Linked DNA regions of Homo sapiens: regions 2 and 3 are each linked to region 1. The links are contacts of gene promoters, found by promoter capture Hi-C in human tissues and cell types (Jung and others, 2019). All regions are on one chromosome and are shown on one strand. Each heading gives the region's core, a stretch centred on a gene start or on the middle of the fragment in contact. The rest is flanking DNA. Distances are from core to core; before and after follow the strand shown.

Region 1 (3,473 bases), core at 268-2,767:
CCGAGAGCGCACAATGCAACGAAACCGCACTCCAAATTCAGCAGTTTGCAAAGTGCCTCCAAGAAAACAGCTGGGACCTGCAATCACTCGTTCGGACTCCTAGGTTATCGGGGCCGCGGCGACTCCGCTCAGTTAGAAAGGTAGCGCGGGTGAGAGCGAACCCCAACTCACGCACAGACAGGACGAGGGCACGAAGCCGAGTCTCCTGGCTGGGGCCGTAGGGGGCGTCACCTCGGTGGCCGCTCTGCTCTCCGGAAGAAAGTATGAGCCGGTCCCAGGCCACCTCGCTCAGCCCAAGGAAGTTTCTATAACGATGCTCGCCTACCACGCAGAGGACAAATGAGGAGCCAGAGCGGTTGGGGGTCGGGCCAACCGAACTCCCGGCCCCGGCTGCGCAGCTCCCAGACGCCCACCAAGAACTCGTGCGCTGCCTGGACCTCTAGCTTTTCGCCCTACACGCAGACGCCCTCTGCAAAACCCCAGTCCCGCAGACTTTCCCTAGCGGCGGGCGGAGGGCATGAACCTGGAAAGGGAGGCAACAGCCCTCTTGGCAGGCGGGCAAAGTAAGTGTCCAGGCTAAGTCCGGGATAAAGGCTCCGCGGCTCCCCAGACCCCACTGCACCCCGAGCTCCCGGGTCCCAGGTCTTCCCCGCCCTTGCGCTGTCTGTCCACCTCCTCACATCTCTCCGGGCCGCCCAGCTTCGAAAGCAGCTAAATTAAAAACAAACAAACAAACAAACAACAACAACAATAAAAAAAAAAAAACGAGGGAAACCTGCTCCTGCCCCTCATGCCCTCAGCTCCTACGGATAGGGCGCCCTTGAGAAGCTTCTTGGGCCTTGAAGATTTGGGGGCGCGTGCCTCGAGCCCCCATCTCGGATGACCCTTCGGGCGTGAACGCTCCTTGTGCTAGGTCTCAGGGTGGCGGGCTAAGGCGTCGGGTCTCTGGGGCATTGCTTTCCTCTCCCCACTTACCTTAAAAAGATCTGTTTTTCGTAGGGAAAATAGAAAAAAATCCCTCCCCGTGGTGTGGTGTGCGAAATAGTCCACGTCCCCGGACCCTGCCAAGATGCTAAGCACCAATATCCAGGAACGAGAAGCCTGGAGGGCGGGGACGGAGGCAGATAAAAGAGAAAAATTCAATCCGCTGAAGTGTCCCAACTTTGCGGTCGGCACAGCAAACTTCAAAGGCGGGCGAGGGCGGGCGGCGCGCGGTCGCCGAAGTTGCTGCGAAGTGGAGTAGGGAGCCGCGCGGGGCTGGGGAATCCCGGGGCAGCGCCGAGAAGCGGCGGGAGGTCCTTTTAAACTGCAGGGAGCGTGCGGGGGCTGGGCGGCGGGAGGATGCCGCAGCGACCCGCGGGGCTGGCGCGGGCTTCGCCGGCCGCCGCTAGTCGCACAGGCGCCTGGCTGGAGCGCCGCGCGGGGTGCTGGGAGAGCCGGGCGCACGGGGCGGCAGCGGCCGTGGCGGGTGCGCTGCTCAGTTAGCTCCACTCTCTCGCGGCTGGAAGTGGGGAGTGTGTGTTCGCTCCCGAGTGTCACTGCTGAAGCCCGGAGTCTCTTCCCCTCCCAGCCCTAACCCCTCCCGCCTCACCGCTGCCCGCCCGCCCCCTCCCTCCTCTGCCCGTTGCCTCCCCCTCCGTCCCTCCTTCTCTCCCTCCCGCTGCGCGCCAGCGCGCACGCACACACACACACACACACACACACTCATACACATACACACACTCACACACAGACACCCTCTCCCTCCTTTTCTCTCTCCCTGTAGCCCTCCCTCCCTCTCTTTCTCTCACACACACACCACCCTGCTCAGCGACCCAGCGCTCCCCAAACAGGACCCTCGCGGGCGGCATCGCGAGGGACACGCTGCTGTCCTAACCTTAGCGCCACTCGGGGAGAATGAAGGAGGCCCACCGAGCCCCCGACAAAGCTGCAAAACCCAGGAGACGCGCACGCGGGACCATCACACTGTCAAGCAGACCGGGGTGCACAATAGAGGGAAACTCTGGGGTTGATCTGGGGGCAGGGAGGGGGACGTGTTAAATCCAGAAGGTTGGTGGTTGGAGGCGGAAAGCAGAGTGTGCAAACTGTGCATTCATGTCCCACTTTTCACCCGAACGCCTGCCTATCACAGCCTTCACTCAGGGAGCGCTTCCCCCTCGGCGCAGACCGAGCCTCCTCCGATTTGAAACTCAGCAGCTGTTTTAACAATTGAAAAAGCGGCCCTACAGGACCAGTGAAACGGAGCAGAGTGTGTGAAGCCATTAAGGCTGACTAGGTAATTATGATAAAAAGTTACCTAATTAGCAACCTGGCCTGGGCTTAGGAAAACCAAGAAAAAAAAAGTACCGAATGATTTGGTGATCTCATTTTTGCAACTGAGAACCTGATTTCCAGCAAACCTGGTTTTATATAAGTTCTAATAATATATAATTATTTATTAAGATATAGTGTCAGTATTGAAAACACTAGTTCTGTTATTGCCACAATGAAATTAAGGTAGGTAGGATGAAAATCAGCCTTATCCCGGTCATATTAAGAACTATGATCTTTTTTGCTAAACAGTTGGTCACAGAGGGTGGACCAATGCAGCTCCTAAAGTTTTGTGGTTCCTAGATGAAAACACTGCAGGAAATGGATTTATAAAACCGTTTACACGACATAAAATAGTTTTGTAAAATTTTTAAACACTGAAAAGGACATTTCAGATCACTGTGCAAGCATATTTTTTGCAGATGAGACAATGAGGTGAGAAAAGTCCTCATTGTATCTCCACTTAGGAGATACGATCTAGAGCAGATCCCTGGGTCATTCATTAACAAAGCTTACGAAGTCCCTGCTGTGTACCAGGTATGTCTTATGTGCTGAGATTTAGAGGTGATGGTGCTGCCTTTAAGGAACTCACCGCCTGGTGAGGAGACAGAGGCATAAATGAAAATGTGATTAGCACTATAATAAGTGCAGGTACCTGGTCCTGTGGAAGCATGGAAAAGGAAACAGCTAACTCCCCTTCAGAAGCTTCTCTTGGTAGAGATTTCAGTGTAGAGTTCTGAAAGACAAGGAAGAAATACAAGGCCAACAAGGATGTGGTGGAGGGGGGAGGGCATTCCACAAACAGAAGCAAGTGAAGAGGTTAGGAAAGTGTCAAAGTACATGGTGTGTCCTGGAAACTAGGAGACTAGGTGCGGCTAGACTGCAGGTGAAGTAAGCAAGGCCAAGCCACACAAGGCTCTCTGGGTGTAAGGAGCCAGAACTTGCCTGGAGGTGGTGAGTAGTTGGGAAACTGTTAAAGGTGTTAAGCTAGGACAGATTCTAAGGTTTGTAAGTATTATTAGATAATGTGTTTTAGAAGGTTTCCTCTGGTTTCACTGTGCAAGACAAATAGAAGAGAGATCACAGTGAGGTTATTTCCAGAGGAAAAATTAGGTCTGAACCAAGGCAGCAGAAATGCTGTTTGGGAGGTTAGGACAGCTCTA
Region 2 (3,862 bases), core at 594-3,093, 150 kb before region 1:
GGAAGCTGTTCATTTCATTGCATGCCCAAAAATAAAATACTTACAAAGAATCAAACACATGAAAAAAATAAACTGAAATTAATAAAAATCTCAAAAGAAAGTAGGTTGGCCAGCTGTTTCTAAAAATCTATATGGTAATATAAGGAAACAACAAGGATTATATAATAATTCTAATCTTTGCAGAGTTGTTTACAGTACTCTTCATAACATTAAATAAAATGATTTTTAAGATCTGTGTTTAATTTTTAAAGTAATTAAATTTAAGCCAGAAACCTTTAAGGAAGGTCTGTTTGAGAATTTTTCACATCTTTTAAGAATGAATTAAAAGGAGAATTTCAACTCTGTACAGACGTCATTTGGTGATGGTTGTATTTGGCCTTCAAAAAATGTTGATTTTAACATTTGGCCATTTGGCAACTATTCAATACACCTCTAATTCAGATAAATTATTTATTCCTGTTTTTAACATTTGAACATTCTCGCCAACTCCCACTTGAAAAAATAAATAAGTGGTTTATTTTCTCCAATTTTGCCCTGAAGGATGACTGGAGATCATGTTGTCAGTGGAGCCCTTTTTGGGGATTACTAGCACTTTCTACTACTCTTCACCAGCTCTTTAGGTCAGAGGCAAAGGGGAGAGGGTTATATGCAGATGAAAGGCACCCTAGTGTCTCTACTGCATCCTCTGAACCTCTTGTTAACATACCTTACCTGAACAAGCCTGTTCTTGCCCAAACCTCCATCTTACAAAATATCTACTAAGAAAAGGGGGCGAGGACGGCTAGGACGACTCTAACAAGTTATAATATTATAAGATCAAATCCAAAGAGCTGGACTTTTCCTGTGGCCTCTCTTCCTAGGCCTTTGCTTTCAACATCCAACACTTTCAGGCCCTTCCTGTACGAACTGAGCAATGTGCTTCCTCTCATCACATGCCTGTAACTTTCTGGCTGGAGAGATCGAACCGATGTTGGAGACAAATTAAAAAAAAAAAGAGCGGAGAAAAAAGGTATAGACACTCAAAGATCATCTGGTTGGCACCTCCCTGAAGGCACATATAATACATTCCAGAAGGAGGGAAGGAAATCCTGGGCGTATGAATGAGATTCTACGGCCTGCGTGGAGCGGCGCTCTGGGCTGCTCCTCCCATCCCCGCATGGAAAGTTAGGCGTTTCTAGCCACATTAATTCATCCTAAAGGAAAAGAGGCGACAGCGGAGCAGCGTGCGCGCGGGGGAAAACACCCGCCCACGCGTGCCTTCGCCAACGCAAAGACGCAGCTCACACCCGTAACCGAGGAAGAGGGAGGCTCCCGCCGCGCTCACTTCCTGCGGGAGAGAGGAAAGACATCTTGCGGCAGGGAGGCCGGTGGCAGTTCCGCCCCTGGACCGGCCGGCAGCGGAGCGCACCCCGCCGCCACCTACGTGGCGCTGCCTGCTCGGGTGGCGCAGCGAGTAAAGGCCACCCCCGCCGTGCCCCGCGGTCCCCGGCCTTCCCACGGACGCCTGGCCCGGCCCGGGCGAGGGGCGACCGGGGTGAAGCCCGCCGCGCCCCGGGCCCTGCGGCAGGGCGACTCCGGGAGGCACAGGGCGCGCGAGGTGCAGGGGCGCGCAGGCCGCCGCCGGGTCACCCACCTTTCGCACTCTGCGGGCCGTGTAGAGCCCCATGCCGTCCTGAACCCGGGAGGACTTCAGGGAGAACCTGTCCGGCACGTACATGCCCAGCATTTTCCCGGGCGCGGCGGCCGCCGCCTCTCTCAACACCGGCGCTTAGCGCCCGGCAGGCGGCACATCGAAATTTGGGGTGCCAGGGTAGAGGGGAGAAACCGGCAGGGAAGGAGGAAATGGAGTTTTCCTCCCAGAATCCCCACCTCCCTGCCGATTCCAGGATCCCCCGCGGCTCAGCCCCTCCTCGTCCCGGGTCGGGCTCGGCCCGGATCCGTTCCTGCCATTCCTGCTGCGGGGGCGCGGGGGGCGCGGGCCTGGGCGCTGCGGGCGCCGGGACGCCGCTCGCTGATTGGCCCGAAGTTGGCGGCTCTGACCCGCGCCCGGGCGCGAAGCCCGGAGCAGGGCTGACCCCAGGGCCTCAAACCCGGAGGCCCGCGAGCTGCGCGGGCCGTCAGCACCCCTAGCCCCGGCGCGGCGGCGTGCGTTCCCGCCTTTGTCCAGCTCTGGGTTTTCAAACCTTGCCCCGCTGAACCATTACTCCCTGTAGGGGAGTCTCGCTTGCTTCTCTTCAGATGCAAAACGAAATGGACCTTCACACAGCTGGGGCATCCTCCAAAACAACTTTATCAAGTTCCTGACTCTGAAAGCCAGCTTATTGCCGACTACTGAGAACGAACCCTGCGGTCTAGGAAATTTCCGTGCTTCTCACATTTGAGTTATGCGTCTTTGCTTTTTTTCACGTTTGTTGCAGAGGCTAGAACTTAATAAGGGATCGCAAAGTATGTTGATTAACGTACGGAAAAATATGTTGCAAACAATTTAATGTTTTAAGCACTAGAAACTAGATATTTTATGGTAACATAACCTCTGGGAAGTTCTTATACTTCTCAAGGTACAATATTCCTGAGACCTCCCTTGCTTGATAATCATTAGACGTATTACGGATTTTCAGACATACGGAAGTGGATTTGTGGGAGACAGGAGGGGACACCCAAACAATAGCATCTGGTGTCACAACAATGCAATAAAGTCACAAGTCTTGTTTTAGTGTTTTTAATAAGCTGTTAGGCTGTGCAGTGTGCCCAGGACCTTTAAAAGCCTGTTTCATCCTTCAAAGTGATCCTGGGGTCATCTACTCATTTCTCTTGATATTTATGGTAATTTTCTACTCTAGGGTCTTTTCTCGGAAACCATTTGATGTTCTTAATTGATGTTCTCATAAACCATTAAAAGCACACACAAAAGTTTGACAAAATTACAGACTACACACACACACCATGGAAACGATTCCTGTTTCTGCAGGAAACCCTTGGAACATAGTTCCTAAGCAGATTTTTTTTTTTTTTTTTTTTTGACAGGGTCTAGCTATGTCTCCCAGGTTGATCTTGAACTCCTGGGCTTAAGGGATCCTCCGGCGGCGTTGGCCTCCTGAAGTGCTGGGATTACACACTTGAGCTACCACACCCGGCCCCTATGTAGATTTTGATTCAAGTTTGGAAAAAGGTTTAAAAAACAAGAACAAAAGGCATTATGGGAAAAAAAAATCATGTAGTGGCAATATTCGGAGACTTTAAGGAACACAGTAAATGATGACATGATCCTCTTTCTAAGAAATGTAAGTTTAGCTTTCACAGCAGGGAGAGGAACACTTAGCCACTCTGTGAGTTTTGATACCTTTGACTTCCCATGGAAGATCTCTAACTTCTCTAGGGGAAAATAAATCAATAAAAACAAAAACTCTCTTTTGGGGGAATTGGGAGTTCCATGGCCTTGAAAAATAGTAGGTGTTCATTAAATATGTCTTGAATGAAAGTCACTTCTGAGGCTGATCTGAGATGTTCAAAAATTCTATGGTGAGCCTAGAATTTACTTGACTTTTTGTTGTGCTTCACAAGGAACTGGACTAAGTAGGTTTTCCAGGGTTCCTTAGAACCAGGGCTGAAACCATGCCAGACCAGATCCACTGGGCCCACAGTCCAGAAGGTGGGGCCCTGGCATTTTCCTGGAGCATTCAGCTCTTTGTCAAACACAGGCTTCCAGCCACCCTTAAGCCATCCAGGGCTCTCAGTCAAATGCTCTGCCACTGTCTCTTTGGGCACGAGAATTTCCACAGCTTTTGATCGCTGGAGAGGAAAACGTTTTTTGGTTTTAGTCTGAAACAATCCTTATTTAGGGATCCTTATTTAGGCATATCTC
Region 3 (3,496 bases), core at 222-2,721, 170 kb before region 1:
TCATGTATTTAAATAAACGAGTGATAGATTATGTACAAGCTTCCATCCTTTTTTAAATTTTTAAATTTTTTGTTTTTATTTCAGTAGCTTTGGGGGTACAAGTGGTTTTTGGTTACATGGATGAATTCTACAGTGGTGACTTCTGAGATGTTAGTGTACCTGTCAACCAAGAAGTATAGACTGTACCCAATATACAGTCTTTTATCCCTCACCCTGTTCCCACCATGATGGCTATATTTTGAAAACATGTTATTTATCCAGTCCACAAAATCAGAAACTGCCCACAAAAATAAATAAAATCATGATAATTTGATCCTCTGGATTTTGTAATATGCAATTTTCTAGTAGGTTGTAATGACTAATTACCCTGGTAATACACTAACCTCAGATGTAAAACATAGAGTTTTCTCATGAATGATCCAGGAGACAGACGTAGGAAAATAAATGCATGTAAAACTTTTTAAATGCCATTAAGTCAGGCTGCTGCAGGTGACGCACACGGCTCTCACAGTGCTCTGGGTATCCCACATTGTGTTACATCTGGAACCCTTACGAGGCCACAGACTTTTTAAAAAAGCAAAGTTCAACCTCTATTTGTTTTGGTTTTGTCCTAATGTTCCTTGTGTTGAGATAAATACCTTTTTAGCATAAGTTATGGATGATATAATGTATTTAAGTAAAAGAGGCTTAAATTTTTCCTATGAAAATGCCACCCAGAATTAAGATATTTTACTTGAAATTTTAGTTTGTATCTGGTTCTTTAGGATTCTGCACACAGTAAAAGCTGTCTTTCCAGAGGGACCACCCAGTGTACTGAACTGTGGCATAGCATATGACTCCACTTGCATCAGATCACACCACTGAACACCCACTGCATCCACAGAAACGTTCAAAGACTAAGAGGCAAATGCAGACTCAGCATGAGTGAGAGAAAAAGAGGAGAGTGAGGCAGAGACCTTGTGATCTTGGAGCAGTTGTAAAGTTCAAGAATGAATGACTCCACTGGAAATATAGGACAACACCAAGTTTCTGAGAACTTATCAGGGCAGTTTCTACACAAAACCTGTTGCAAGCATCCCAGAGAATCACTTTTGAAATGGAAAGAAAGGCCCAGAGCCAATAGAAAAGAGCTGTTTGGAGGATTCCAGCTGCTACTGGATTCACCAGTAGCCACTTTAGAACAACTAAATCATGGTCAGAACAGGTAGCAAGGAAATGCACAAACTGTGCTGCATTCCACAGGTGCCAAAATGTAAAGTTATATGCTGGAAGCACAGAGCCAGTGCCTGGAGAAAACGTACTTGAATTGTGGTTTGAAATATCTAAGAAAATATTATAGAAAGAGGATGTCTTGGAGACGTAAAAACAAAGAATTATTGAGAGTTTAGCAAATAGAACATAGGTCATAGGTCATAGAATGAGTCTGAATTAGTAGAGAATTGAAGGAAATGTATCTCAAGCTCCAAACCACCTGGCAAAAAGTAGACAGAAAGACTTCTAATTAAGAGAAGAATGGAATACAATGCAGAAAACTGGGTATATTCCACCAAATTGTCCAAGGGAAGCATTTACAGTCAAACACTGGTTCCTAACCTCAAGCTTTGTAATATGCCTGAGGCCCAAGAAATCCAGAGTTCTTCTGCTTAAGCACTTAATTTTAAAAGAAAAGTAAAAATCTGAGGTGATCAAGAAGGATTAAAGACCCACAACACTCAGTCTATTCAGAGACCAAGCTCAAAACCTGATGGCCAATACAGAAAGTAACTGAGGTACTAGTGAGCACTCTGAAGCAGTGGGCATCAGTAAGTTCTAAGCTGCACCTTTGGACAAAGAGAGAGAGGTGGCAGTAGATATTATTAGTGCTCCCCATGACCCTAAGATCCCTTCATACCCTGTCCCAAGCTCACAAAGGCTCACACCTACCAGGAGGCTCAATCCTGACTGGTAACTCCAAGTTCTTTGGTATGAAATGGCTCCCCAGGGGCTCTTGGCCTTGTCCACCACAACCACTGGCATCATAAGCAGAATACAGGTATAAACTGAGAAGGAGTTATGCCACATGCTCTCTCACATGACATCATTTTCCAGACACTACCACCAGGTTCTGGTTCATGTTCCATAACCACAACATATGTAACTATTTTTTTGAGAAGGACTACTCATTTGAGAGCTTCATTGTGGTTAGCACCATAGATATGGGGCATAGCAGAAATGACTCCCATAACCAATCTAAATTTACCCACCAGAGGAGGGAAGGCTCATTATCTCCCTTTGGAAAGACTCAAACAGTTCCACAAGGGGCAGAAGCAGGACCAGTAACAGGACCAGTTATTCTCCTGTATCTGTGCTCTTTCTGAATCCTAGCACCTCCAAAGCTAAAATAATAAAAAAATAAAGGACTTTCAATGGTATAACTCAGGGTTTGGAAGCAGCTTGCTCACTCAACATAATAAGGGACAAGATTAAAGATAGCAAGCAATAACTCTGCAATTCTAAAAGTGTTGTTCTTGAAATGTTCCCTCTAGAAGACCTACCACAGAATCTGTCCCTTCCCCTGTCCAGCTGCACAACTGGGCAGAGCAGGGAATGGCTGATATGGTTTGCCTCTGTGTCCCCACCCAAACCTCACCATGAACTGCAATAATCCCCATGTGTAAATGGCAGGGCCAGCTGGAGATAATTAAATCATTGGGGCAGTTTACCCAATACTGTTCTCGTGGTAGTGAATAAGTTTTACAAGGTCTGATGGTTTTATAAACGGGAGTTCTCTTGCACAAGCTCTCTTGCCTGCCACCATGTAAAACATGCCTCTGCTTCTCCTTTGCCTTCCACCATGATTGTGAGGCTGCCCCAGCCATATGGAACTGTGAGACCATTAAACTTCCTTCCTGGCTGGGCATGGTGACTCACATCTGTAATCCTAGAACTTTGGGAGGCCGAGGCCAGCAGATCACTTCAGGTCAGGAATTCAAGACCAGCCTGGCCAACATGGTAGAACCCCGTCTCTACTAAAAATACAAAAATTAGCCAGGTGTGGTGGCATGCACCTGTAATCCCAGCTACTTGGGAGGCTGAGGCAGGAGAACCTCTTGAACCCAGGAGATGGAGGTTGCAGTGAGCTGAGATCGTGCCACTGCACTCCAGCCTGGGTGACAGAGGGAGACTCCTTCTCAAAAAAAAAAAAAAAACAAAAAAACCTCCTTCCTTTATAAATTACTCAGTCTCAGGTATGTCTTTATTAGCAGCATGACAACAGACTAATACAATGGCTGACAATCCGAAATGAAGACGAGACCAAGAGGAAAAAGAACCAGAAGGGGAGGGGGAAGGTATATGAACTAAGGGGTTAAATGTATCAAAAGGTCTCAGGTGAAAAAAACAGGCTGGAAGGGAACAGAGACTTTTCATCAATTCCCTTTTGTACCTTCTGAATTGTGTAACAAGTAAAAATATTACTTGTTCAAAACACAGACATAAAGGGTGAAGTAAAATGAAA

Evidence for each region. The method cuts DNA at HindIII sites, captures the fragments that hold promoters and counts their contacts. A contact is called where the count stands out against the background at its distance.
Region 2: a contact is called between the fragment with the promoter of PRDM5 here and the fragment with the promoter of NDNF in region 1, in 1 of the 25 tissues and cell types used here (ovary).
Region 3: a contact is called between a fragment that was not itself captured here and the fragment with the promoter of NDNF in region 1, in 2 of the 25 tissues and cell types used here (mesendoderm cells and stomach).

Annotation. Positions count from the first base shown.
Region 1 is chr4:121,071,018-121,074,490 of GRCh38, forward strand. NDNF (neuron derived neurotrophic factor) reads right to left here and starts at 1,518. Exons shown (of 4, transcript NM_024574.4): 1 at 976-1,518. NDNF-AS1 (NDNF antisense RNA 1) reads left to right here and starts at 345. Exons shown (of 3, transcript NR_187407.1): 1 at 345-563; 2 at 2,733-2,847. The HindIII fragment of the contact is 5,612 bases long and covers 1-3,473 here.
Region 2 is chr4:120,920,883-120,924,744 of GRCh38, forward strand. PRDM5 (PR/SET domain 5) reads right to left here and starts at 1,844. Exons shown (of 16, transcript NM_018699.4): 1 at 1,634-1,844. The coding sequence starts at 1,726. It overlaps LOC105377399 (a long non-coding RNA gene), which reads left to right and starts at 2,054. Exons shown (of 2, transcript XR_001741804.2): 1 at 2,054-2,445. The HindIII fragment of the contact is 5,313 bases long and covers 1-3,862 here.
Region 3 is chr4:120,901,018-120,904,513 of GRCh38, forward strand. All of the region lies in intron 2 of PRDM5 (PR/SET domain 5), which reads right to left. Among named protein-coding and RNA genes, the nearest start is that of PRDM5, 20 kb to the right of the region's middle. The HindIII fragment of the contact is 6,197 bases long and covers 1-3,496 here.